Regions from separate parts of the Homo sapiens genome. Here region 2 is linked to region 1. The links are contacts of gene promoters, found by promoter capture Hi-C in blood cells and fetal thymus (Javierre and others, 2016). All regions are on one chromosome and are shown on one strand. The core of a region is centred on a gene start or on the middle of the fragment in contact, and the rest is flanking DNA. Distances in the headings are between cores, read along the strand shown.

Region 1 (5,622 bases), core at 1,443-3,942:
GACTACAGGTGCGTGCCACCACACCCAGCTAATTTTTGTATTTTTAATAGAGACAGGGTTTCACTATGTTGGCCAGGCTGATCTCAAACTCTTGACCTCGTGATTTGCCCGCCTCAGCCTCCAAAGTGCTGGGATTACAGGCGTGAGCCACCGCGCCTGGCAGATATGATGGTTTTGTAAGGGGCTTCCCCCTTTGCTCAGCACTCATTCTCTCTCCTGCTGCCCTGTGAAGAGGTGCCTTCCACCAGGATAGTAAGTTGCCTGAGGCCTCTGCAGCCATGCAGAACTGTGAGTCAATTAAACCTCTTTTCTTTATAAATTACCCAGTCTTGGGTATCTCTTGATAGCAGTGTGAAAACGGACTAATACACTAACCAAAATTTTTCTGTGGTTTGTTAGTCTTATTGTTGACTCTCAAGGGCTTTCCAGGTATTCTCTCTTGTCATTTGCAAGTCGAAGTAGTTTTATGACTTTTTAAAATTCTTAAAAAATAATTTTTTAATTCTTATATATTTTTTCTAATTTATAAGCCTCTTAGGATTTCTGTTGTCTAACTTCATTAGCTGATACCTTTGGTGTAATGTCAAAAAATCATAGGTAGTGTGAACATCGTTGCCTTGTTTTCTTCAATCAGCTCTTAAAAGACCATGTATATAAAAAGTATTTCGAAGGACAGAAATAACTCTAGTGTTAGACATTTCTGGACATTTAGCTGGCAAGATGAGATTATGGCCCCTCTTATGCCTAGTAACCAGAATAACAAACAAATGAAACTTCAGCAAAAAAGGGTAAAAGTACAAATGTGATTTTATAGTAGTTCATTAAAAACATTGAGCTGGACCTCAGTTCTATCTTTTTTCTTTAAAGGATTGCTAACTAATAATTTTGCTCTTTACTCAGTCATTCATCTATGACTTATAGAATGCCTATAATATTCCAGACATTATCTTAGGTTCTTTCTCATTTTTTACTATACCCATGTGAAATAGGTATTAGCTTCATTTCATAAAAGGACATTGGAGTTTGGAGTGGTTAAATGACTTACCCAAAGTCACACAGTTAGTAAGCGTAGACTGATTTTGAATCTGGGTCTCCTAGTTTGAATTAATAAGTGCTCAATAATAAATAATAACTAAAGGTTATTTAGTGTTTACTGTTTTACATACTTCATTTATATCGATTGGTTTAATACAACCACCAAATGGCATTTTCATCTTTATTGTCTGTTTTTTATAGATGAGAAAACTGATAGCACAAGTAGCTTGCCAAAGATCACAAGCAATAAAGCTGAAATTGTCTTCAGATCCCATGATTAAGAAACCAATCACTACACTATAAACCAATCACTACACTATTCTTCTTTCAAAGAAACGAAGGAAGTTCTAGGATCATGAGAGATGGAGAGTATTCAATCTCCTGAATGTAAATCTACCAGCATTACTTACCAAGTTTAAGTTTTTCTGTTGTTACTTGAGGCAGTGGGTGATTATGCAATTGGTAAAGGGAATGAAAAGGCCTTTGCACCCAAGAAAGTAGAAGAAAGGCGCCTGAATCTCTTTATGATAGGTGGTATGTTAAATCTAGGTATTTTCGTATTTCAACATATTCCACTTCTTGCAAAAGCTGCAAAATGCAACACAACTTTAAATGTAAACATAGCTTCCAAGGGCACAGTGCTGAACATATAATAACCTGTGTGTGCACACCCACACTAGGTTATGTAACAGGACTGTAAACACTGGTCCTGGAATGGCCTGGGAGGTCATCTAGGTCCTCCACCATCTTTCTGCAGAGTACTGAGGCCTAGCGACGTTAAGTCTGCAAACTCACAAAGATGACCCCGGGCTTATACTACCTTAGGTTACCTACTACCTTTGCTTGCATTTCCTCTCTCCTTTCCTGTCTGTTTGTGCAAAAGAAAAAAGGCCTGGCTTCGCCTTCTTGGGAGCCAAAACACAACCAAACAGAGAGCGAGTTTGGAGCCCGGCCAGGCATCTTGTGAACTGCACACAAAATAACTAGCCCAAGGTCAGAGAGCGCGCCAGGCCCGCCCTGAAAGTTTCTCCGCAGGAAAATCCACCGCCCTTTCCCAACCACCCGCGTGGGTGGCTCGGAAATCCGCCACCCTGGGGACACAGCTCCCTGCCCATCTCTGTGGCCCGCTTGTGCCCCGTGCCGCTGGGCCGACTAAGAGCCTCGGGCTCGCACCTCCCAGTACAACCTAGGGACGTCAGGGGTCCTGGGACCCACGAGCCGCTCTCTGCCGGCCGGCTCCTGGCCCCTCCTAGCAGACCCAACCGACATCCTTCACCCTCAGTTAGTGCGCAGGAGGGACCGGGACGCCAGCCGACTGCGCTCCAGAACTATTCCCATTGGGCCAGAGAATGAGTGACGCACTAGGCCCCGCCCCGGCCCGGTGGGTTACTCCTTTCATGCCCGGCCCCCATCCCTAGCCCCGCCCCGGCGCCCCGGGCCGCGGCCGCCTCCGCGTCCGCGTCGTCGTCTGTGCTCCCGGCGCTGACGTGTCTGGGCGGTCGGCTTCCACTCCTTCAGGCGTCGGCAGCCACTAGTCGTGGCGAGAGGGGCGGGGTGGCCGGGGCTGGCGCTCCACTTGGCCCCCGCTCCCGGCCCGCCCCGCCGCCGCGGCCCCCCGGATGAGGGTATATATTCGGAGCGAGCGCGGGACGCCGATGAGTGGCCGCGCGGAAGGAGCTGGAGACGGTCGTAGCTGCGGTCGCGCCGAGAAAGGTGAGGGGCTCCCAGCCCAGCGAGGAGACGGCGGGGCTCGGGACCCGGGCGGGCGGAGGGCCTGGCCCCACCGCACACACGGCCACGCGCTCAGACGTGGACACGCGTCGCACGAACGTGCACAGCGCGGGCAGCCGAGCACACGCCGAGGAGCCTCCCGCTCGCCCGCAGACACACACCCCAGCCCGTGCGCCCCGCAGTCGCACCCCATCCTCCGCCACCCCGCGAGAGGGTGTGTGGGCTGGGCAGCCGGGTGGATGGCGGGGCCAGGGATGGAATGAGCGCGCCCCAGATGGACTGGGGGCGTTGTGGGAGGAGGTCTGGGCCAGTGTCTGAGTCCGAGGGGGTCGTGTAGGCGTGTGGGGTTGGGAGTGGGGCCTCTCCCGGGTGGGCAGTAGAGACCTCGAGGCTCTCAGGCTAGGGCCTTGTGGACAGTTATACCAAGTGTGGGGGCCTGTAGTGGGACAGGAGATCGTTGGCACTGTCAGGTGGAAGCGAGTTGGTGTGTCTTGAATATATGAGGAAAAGATTTGAGAGGTCTGACAAAGACAGGGGATACATTTGGAGGACAGGACAGTGGGACAAAACCTGTTTGCTTGCCACTTTTTTCTTTCTTTTTTTTGGTTTGGTTTGCCATGATACTGGTAGTGAGAGAGAATTGAAATTTCTGGGTTTCCCCTCTCTTGGCCAAGCAGAAGGATGGTATTGGAGGGCTGAGCACACGTATGCTGAACATATGGCTGCTTGAACTTTGGCCTGTCGCTGTGCTACACTTACTTCTACATGGTTTATGAAATCTGAAATCAGGTAATAGGATTATGATCATATGTGTGTGTCATTTGGTATTGCAAAAGTTTAAGGACTTTTAGGTGAAATTCACTGGGTGTGGATCCAAGAGTTCGCCGGAAACTCAAGGCAGTTGTCTATTCCTTCACGGTTAGTCAGTTGGCTCACTTAGCTGGAGCAAAGAAAGACTTCATAGGCTGTGCTGCCAAGCATTTATAGGATTCAGTTGGTGGTTATGTCTCAACTCTGATACTGTTTTTCAAAAGCTTTAAGAGGTTTACTTATTCATTTCGAGGGCATACGTATACCAGCAGAGATAGGGGCTGGGTGGGGGAAGCCAGAAAAGGAGGGAGAAATACTGGATTTCTTTAATACTGGTATTTAAATTCTAATAAAAATATATTTGATAATGGTAGATTATTACCAAATTTTTCATATATTTTGATGCAGATGGATTAGGCTGTGGGCATGTACCAAGTTTTGTCATAATTTCTCGAGCAGATTTTCAACTTTTTCAGATTTCGGTTGTCAAAATAAAAATCCATATCTTTTAACTCTTCTGTTAATTGCTGCTTACCATTACACGTGCCTCTAAACATCGTTAATGGGAAACATGCTACTATTTTTGTGGCATGAAGGTGCTTATATCTGCCTCAAATAAATATAATAGATGAATTGTGCTTGTCCAAAACTCAAGTATGGTCGTTACATTATGAACATTATACAACATGTAGATGAACACATGTTACCAGTGGTTTACGCCCAGATATCAAAGTTTAACCTATGAGGTACCCTTTTTTTTTTTATTTTTATTTTTTGAGACGGAGAGTCTCACTCTGTCGCCAGGCTGGAGTTCAGTGGCGTGATGTCGGCTTACTACAACCTCCGCCTCCCCGGTTCAGGCGATTCTCCTGCCTCAGCCTCCTGAGTAGCTGGGACTACAGGCGCGTGCCACCATGCCCAGCTAATTTTTGTATTTTTAGTGGAGATGGGGTTTCACCATGTTGGCCAGAATGGTCTCCATCTCTTGACCTCATGATCCGCCCGCCTCGGCCTCCCAAAGTACTGGAATTACAGGCGTGAGCCACCGCGCCCGGCCCTATGAGGTATCTTATTTGCATGGATTCATTTTCCCAAGTGTCTGAAGGTGGAGGAGTATCTAATGATCTTTTAGGAAAAGTTTGGTTTATATCTTAAAATGTTATAGTAATATGTTTGTGTATGCCTTTTATCAGACAGAGCACTCTTTACTCTTGACTATCTTGAAGGCATGTGAGAAAGGTTGGTTGTCTTATATTCATGAGGAAATCTATGCACAGGGAGGTAAAATGATTGCATAGAATCAAATGATAGAGAAGGACCAAGAACAGGGACTTCCTATTCTTTGGTTATCTGGTTCCTTGCTGATCTTCCTACTACAATGTACTCCCTTAAATCAGAGGCAAAGCAGCAGCATAAATAAGGTCTTGGGAAAGACTACATTCCTTGGAAAATAATTTAATATAAATCTGTTCCTCTCAAGTGTCTTTTTTAATGTGATTTTTTAAAATTAAAAAATAATAGCATCATGACTCTTGAAACCTATATAAATCAATAGGAATGCCTTTTAATACCATAATGAACATTGAAAGCTGAGTGTTGTTATTACCACCTCAGGGAACACACAGATGTAGGTTCTCTAGACCTGAGCTTGTAAATGGAGTTTGATGTTTAATGATCCTGGTGAGGTAGATACTATTATTAATCTCATTTTACAGATAAGGTAACCGAGGCATGGGGAAATTAAGTGGCTCAGCTTAGCCTAGAATTGTGCTCTGAACTACCATGTGTATTACTTTTCACTGTTCTTATAGGAAGAGAAGATAAGTGTCTTTAGAACCTACTTTTAACCTCTGTCTCTCACATCGAAGCAATTATAATGCAGTGATGATTCTTTACAGTGACCCTCAAATTTATTCCTTTCACTCTCATTTTCTCTGCCACTAATCTGGTTCAGACCTTTGGTATTTCATACCTGCAGTTGTCTTTTAACTTCTTTTCCTGCTTCTAGTTGTCCCTCCTTACAATCTATTGTATCCATTGCTCCTT
Region 2 (5,575 bases), core at 2,756-5,255, 230 kb before region 1:
GAACCAATAGGATATATGTGTGGGTGTGCATGCTTACACATATTACATGTGTTTATGTATAGGTACACATACTTAATATATACAGGCACATATAAGAAATAGTTAAGGAATTGGCTCACATGATTATGGAGGCTGAGAAGTTCCAAGATCTGCAATTGGGAAGGTGGAGACCCAGGAATGCTAATATATGGTTCCAGTCTGAGTCTGAAGACCTGAGAACCAGGAAAGCTGATGGTGTGAGTTTCAGTCTGCACATTGGCAGGCTTGAGACCCAAGAAGAGTCTGACCTGGCTGGAAAAGACCAATGTCCCAGCTCAAAGCAATCAGGCAGGAGGCATTCCCTCTTACTCAACCTGTTTGTTCTATTCAGGTGTTCAGTTGGATTATTGGATGAGGCCAGGGATGATGACAGAGTAAGATGAGGTCTCATGGCCAGAGACTGAAAGAGGGAATAAAGGATGAGAACTTGAAGACAACATAATTGATTCTAGTCAGGCCCCAAAAATGTGAGATCATGAAGAAAAATCATGTGACTGCCCAGATTTTCATAAAATGCTTCTTGAAAAGTATACAATATGGAAAGCAGAGCTTAAAAACAAGTATGAGTGCAAAGGAACAACAATTACTGAGAGAACTGAAACCCTGAATGCATTAGGCTTATGGAAAAGGCTGAAGATGAGAGAAAAAGGGGTGTGAAGGAAGAGAGAGTTGGCACATGGCAAGGGGAAAATCTCAATCCCATTTTTCTAACTGTCTTGGTTTTTTTCTTCTCAAGTAGAGAACTGATCTTCAAATTAGAAACACTAGAACATATGTAATTTTAAAAAACCGAAGTTCAAAACCAAGAGGAAAAAGGAAGGTATTCCTCACTACCATGTGTCCAGGCCTGAATCACTGGCTTCTGGGTTCCTGAAAAATATGATTGCAAAATAGTGATTGGTCATCTTTTGCAAAATCATGAGGGATGGAGAAGAAACAAAAAGATTGCAAAAATAAAATATTGCAGTTTTTAGAAAGGGGGCAAACCTGCATCAGGAATTACCAACTAGTGAATTTGTCATTGCTCCTGGGCAGAATTCTAGAAGAGATCATTAAGCAGATGGTCTGTGAGAACTTGGAAAAGGAAATCATGAACACTGAGAGCTAGTCCTAAAAAACCAGTTACCCAAGTATGTTCAGGAAATCTGCCTTACAGCTGTTGCGCAAATTAGCTTTGAGCATTTGAGTAGACTACAGTGTGAACCAGCAATGAGATGTTATAACAGAAGAAAAAAAACATGATCAGAGATGCTTTGCTAAAAATTCAGTTCTAGGGCATAGAAAATATTTATCCAAATATACTCTGTGCTGTTCAGATCCCTCACAAATGAGTTCAGTTCTGTGAGCTGCATTTTAAGATAGTCACTGGCAAGTTGGAATATGTACGGAAAAAGTTAAGAGAAGATGGAACTCATATTTATTGAGCAAGCAACTTAACATGTGTTGGGCATTGTGTAAAATGTGGTATGTGTGTTTTAATGCTTAAAACAATACCATGAAGAAGTCATTAATATGCCTATTTTAGATGAGGAAATGAAGGATTATGTAACTGAGTTTTTTGCCTCAGGCCAGCAGCTAGAAGATGGCAAAGCTAAGACTTGAACCTGGATCTTTCTCATCCCCAAGCCCATGCTCTTTCCACAGTGCAAACCTGCCAGAGAAATAAGGGACTTGGAAAATGAGCCAACTGAGAAACTGTTGAAGGAAGAAGTAATTCACTTTAAAAATGAAAGGAGTGCAGAGGAGTCGGAGAGTGGGGAGGGCATCAGGAAGAATAGCTAATGCATGCTGGGATTAATACCTAGGTGATGGGTTGATAGGTTCAGCAAATCACCATGGCACACATTTACCTATGTAACAAACCCGTCCATCCTGCACATGTACCCCGGAACTTAAAATAAACTTAAGAAAGGAGTAAATATAAACATGATATTGTTTCCATATATTAAAATGTTGGCCATTTGGAAGAGGAGTAGCCTTGTTCTCTGAGATCCCTAAGGATGGAACTAGAGCAGTAGTGTGGCAGTAATTAGAGCAGTTCACATTTATTAACCATTTGCTGTAAGCTGACCCCTCTGCACATACTCATTCTTTAAACCTTACTAGCATGAGTGAGGTACAGCACAATGATCATACCTGTTTCACAGGTGAAGAACAAGAAGGGGGTTGAGATAATGACCAGGGTGTCCCAGCTAGTAAGTGGCAAAGCTTGGGCTGAAATCCAGGTCTGTCCCCCTCAGGGCCAGTGTTCTCAGCCATTTTCCTCCACTGCATTCCTGTTGGCAGAATTCCAGTCAACATGAGGGAAAATTTCCTGGTAACTAGAACCTCTTAAAAAGGGATCAGATACTTTGTTAGAGAGTGAATTGCCTATCAGTGATGAATCCTGACAGACAGAGATGCTGGCTTGTATCCAGGCCTTATGACCCCATAGGTTTCTTTCTACTCTAAATTGTTGTTGCTGCTGTTGTTGTTGTTTTTCTATGATCTTAAGAGAAGCGAGTTTACCTATAGATGAATAGTTTGAGAAGGGGGGTATTGGTGGTGAATCTAGTTGTTTTTAAAATCACGTTGTCAACCTAAATTCCAGCATGATGATAAACCCAAAATCCAGTTTCTTCCAGATAATGTTTTTCTTTCAGTCATTTATGGTAAGTCTGTGGACATATGATGAATCTGCAGAAAGGTTTATTACTGTGTAAAAGCATAACAGTTCTGTTAGTAAGTAAAAATTATAATGCTATACATATTTTGAAATAAAAGTAAGAAATTTTAGGGCCAGCTGTGGTGGCTTACACCTATAATCCCAGCTACTCAGGAGGCTGAAGCACAAGTATCACTTGAACCTGGGAGGCAGAGGTTGCAGTGAGCCAAGATTTCACCAAGAAAAAAAGAGAGAGAGAGAGAGAGAGAGAAAAGAAATTTAAAGGAGAAGAAATTTTAGGAAAGTTGAAGGGGGAATAAAACCTTATTAACATTATATGAACTACTTTGGTATCCTACTCTTTATAATTATAGTGAAAGTTGGGAAAATTGACTAAGGTACTTTTTGGAAGCAGGATTATCAGAACTAGGCTAGACTGACTTAAGGGTAAAGATGAAGAAGGAAAGAAAAAGGGAAATCTTTCCTATTCTCTTGAGCACTCACCTTCCTCTACTCTCCCCCAATTTCTACCACCCCCACAATCACAGTGCTTAAGAAAACCAAGTAATGGAGAAATAAGGGTTCTTGGAATGTATTTCTTGATCTGGAAATTTGGACCCAAGAGACATTAATTTGCGGATTTATTAGTTTGTTGATGAATGAGGTCGCATGGAAAAACTTTCTGCCTCTTGGTTATGTTGGTGGAAACTTTTCTAAGCTTTAACTAGCTGACTTTTTGGTTAGCTAGAGATTATTTACTTTTAATAACAACACGCTAAGTTTCTGAAATCAGATATAGCAGAGCAGTCTCCAGAGAGCTGTGGTCCAAAGGCAGTGGCTGCATCCATGTACAGTTCTCATCAGATTTTCTGAAAAGATGCTTTATCTGTTAAGGTTAAGTTAACCTTGGCTTACTGCCGTTCCTCTGTTCCTTCCACATCTCTGTGTCTTGTGGGCATGCCAGTTTGCATTCAAATCTGCTGTATCAGTTTTAAATCCAGTTCTCAGTCCTTAGGGTATTACATAAGAATAAGTTAACTAAAGAATCCAAGAAGTTTTACGTATGATGCTGAACTAACTGGATCTGACTTCCTTGGGGAAAATGAATAGCCAGGCAGATCACATTATAGATGAGCATTAATGACAGCTGGAACACCTCCCTCCCTTCTAAGCAGGCAAGGAACCTCCCATGTGCCAATCACTGTGCTGGCACTGGGGATACCAAGATGTGTTCCTTGTTCCTTCAAGGAGCACATGTAAAAACATCATAGTGTGAGATATGTGCTGTGGCAACGTTGAGCCCCAGGGTATTCAGCAACTCAGACTGCTGAAGAAAAGGGAGGGGAAGGCTGCTCTGAACCAAGTCTTGGCGGCCATCAAAGGTGTTCACAGCAGTTGCAGAATTGGGAAGATGCACACACCTAGTTCTGCAGGCCTGTGTAGGTCAGGACTCTGGAGAGAGATGACTGCAGAAAGGTAGGTACACCATGCTAAGGAGTTTGGACTTTATCCTAAAAGCAGTAGGAAGCCTTTGGATGGCTTTAAGAGGAAAATGATGGGATGTAATTTGTCTTTTTTAAAAATAACACTTTGCTGGCAATGTAGAGAATGGGTTGACAATAGGTGAGTTAGGAAGCAGAGCAGCACACTGTTTACAGGATGTTGTAAAAATCCAGGTGAAAAATGAGAACTCTAGATGATCAATAGCTTGGAGTTGAAGAGAAAAACATAAATCAGAGACATATTAGGGAGCGAGTCTGCAAGGAACTTGCTCCTGAGTGATGGCTATTGGGGAACAATGGAGGAAGCTGTTGAGAATGACACCTGGGTTTCTGGCTTGAGTAGGTATGGTGTCCCCTTATCAAGATAGGACATGGAGAATTATGGGGAATATGATGAATTCACTCGGGGGTATGAGGAATTTGAGAAGCTTGAGAACCATTCAGGAGGAGATGTCCAGGAAGGTTGGCTGAATGGGCCTGGAACTCAGGCAGGAGATGCTGAGATACAATTGTAGATTTGTCCCTTTGATGTTAGGAAGACAGTTTGACATCATTAGAAGGATAGGGGACTGGAAACCACACTAAACAGCCTCTATTTCAGAACCATTTAGAGATGATAGACATGTGAGATGTACTGAAATGCCTGCTAGCTGAGTGTAGCAGAGAAACTACAGTCCCCAAGGTGAACTTGGGTTTTTTCACAGTGTTGTTTTCCTCTCTGTGCCCACCTTTCTTTTGGACTTTCCTCCCAGGCTTCTTGGGGTCCTGTGGCAAGAATCTCAGTTACTAGGCTGTTTAGAGGCTATATCAGTAAGGGGATGTAAGATGGCATTTTACTAACTATTCTACCTCCTCAATAACTCTTGGAAGGGTTACTATTAGTAGTCCCATTGTACAGATAACAAAACTGAGCCTCTGAGGGGTGACATAACTTATTTTTTAGTAAGTGGCAAAGTCGTAGATGAAGTTGTAGACTCTCAATCCCATTCTCTTTCTTCTATACAGCACAGACCTACACTAAAACAAATCAGACCTGTTAACTCCTTGAATGAAAGCCATCAGTGTTGTTAGTGGTGAAAAATGTTTTGCAGAAATGATGTGGCCTCTTAGGTGCTACCAAGAGCAATACACTCCTTGGACTGCCCAAAACTAATTCCACTGATGCACCCGCTCCAACTCCCTGCACCGACCCCACAGCAGTCAGACCTGGAGGCCCTGGGGGGGCCCTGTCCTAAGCCATCTTAAGATGCAGCCTCTAGGGCCTTGCTTATAATTTTCCCCCTTTCTCCAGCCTCCCCTTGTTCCTACCTCTGCCCACCCCAAGCAGCCAGAATGATCCTTTAGTTTAAAGCATAAGCAAGTCAGTCCTCTGCTTAAAAGCCGATGGCTT

The links. Contacts are between HindIII fragments. The CHiCAGO score rates a contact against its expected background, and 5 or more counts as called.
Region 2: a fragment that was not itself captured here is called in contact with the fragment with the promoter of UAP1 in region 1 in 1 of 17 cell types (monocytes); the score reaches 5.1 in monocytes.

The regions. Positions count from the first base shown.
Region 1 is chr1:162,559,030-162,564,651 of GRCh38, forward strand. UAP1 (UDP-N-acetylglucosamine pyrophosphorylase 1) reads left to right here and starts at 2,693. Exons shown (of 11, transcript NM_001324116.5): 1 at 2,693-2,748. It overlaps UAP1-DT (UAP1 divergent transcript), which reads right to left and starts at 2,324. Exons shown (of 3, transcript XR_426859.4): 1 at 2,209-2,324; 2 at 1,446-1,623. RefSeq lists a silencer at 2,282-3,181. The HindIII fragment of the contact is 14,107 bases long and covers 1-3,798 here.
Region 2 is chr1:162,326,431-162,332,005 of GRCh38, forward strand. The region is part of intron 4 of NOS1AP (nitric oxide synthase 1 adaptor protein); the gene reads left to right. Among named protein-coding and RNA genes, the nearest start is that of MIR556, 13 kb to the right of the region's middle. The HindIII fragment of the contact is 1,212 bases long and covers 3,400-4,611 here.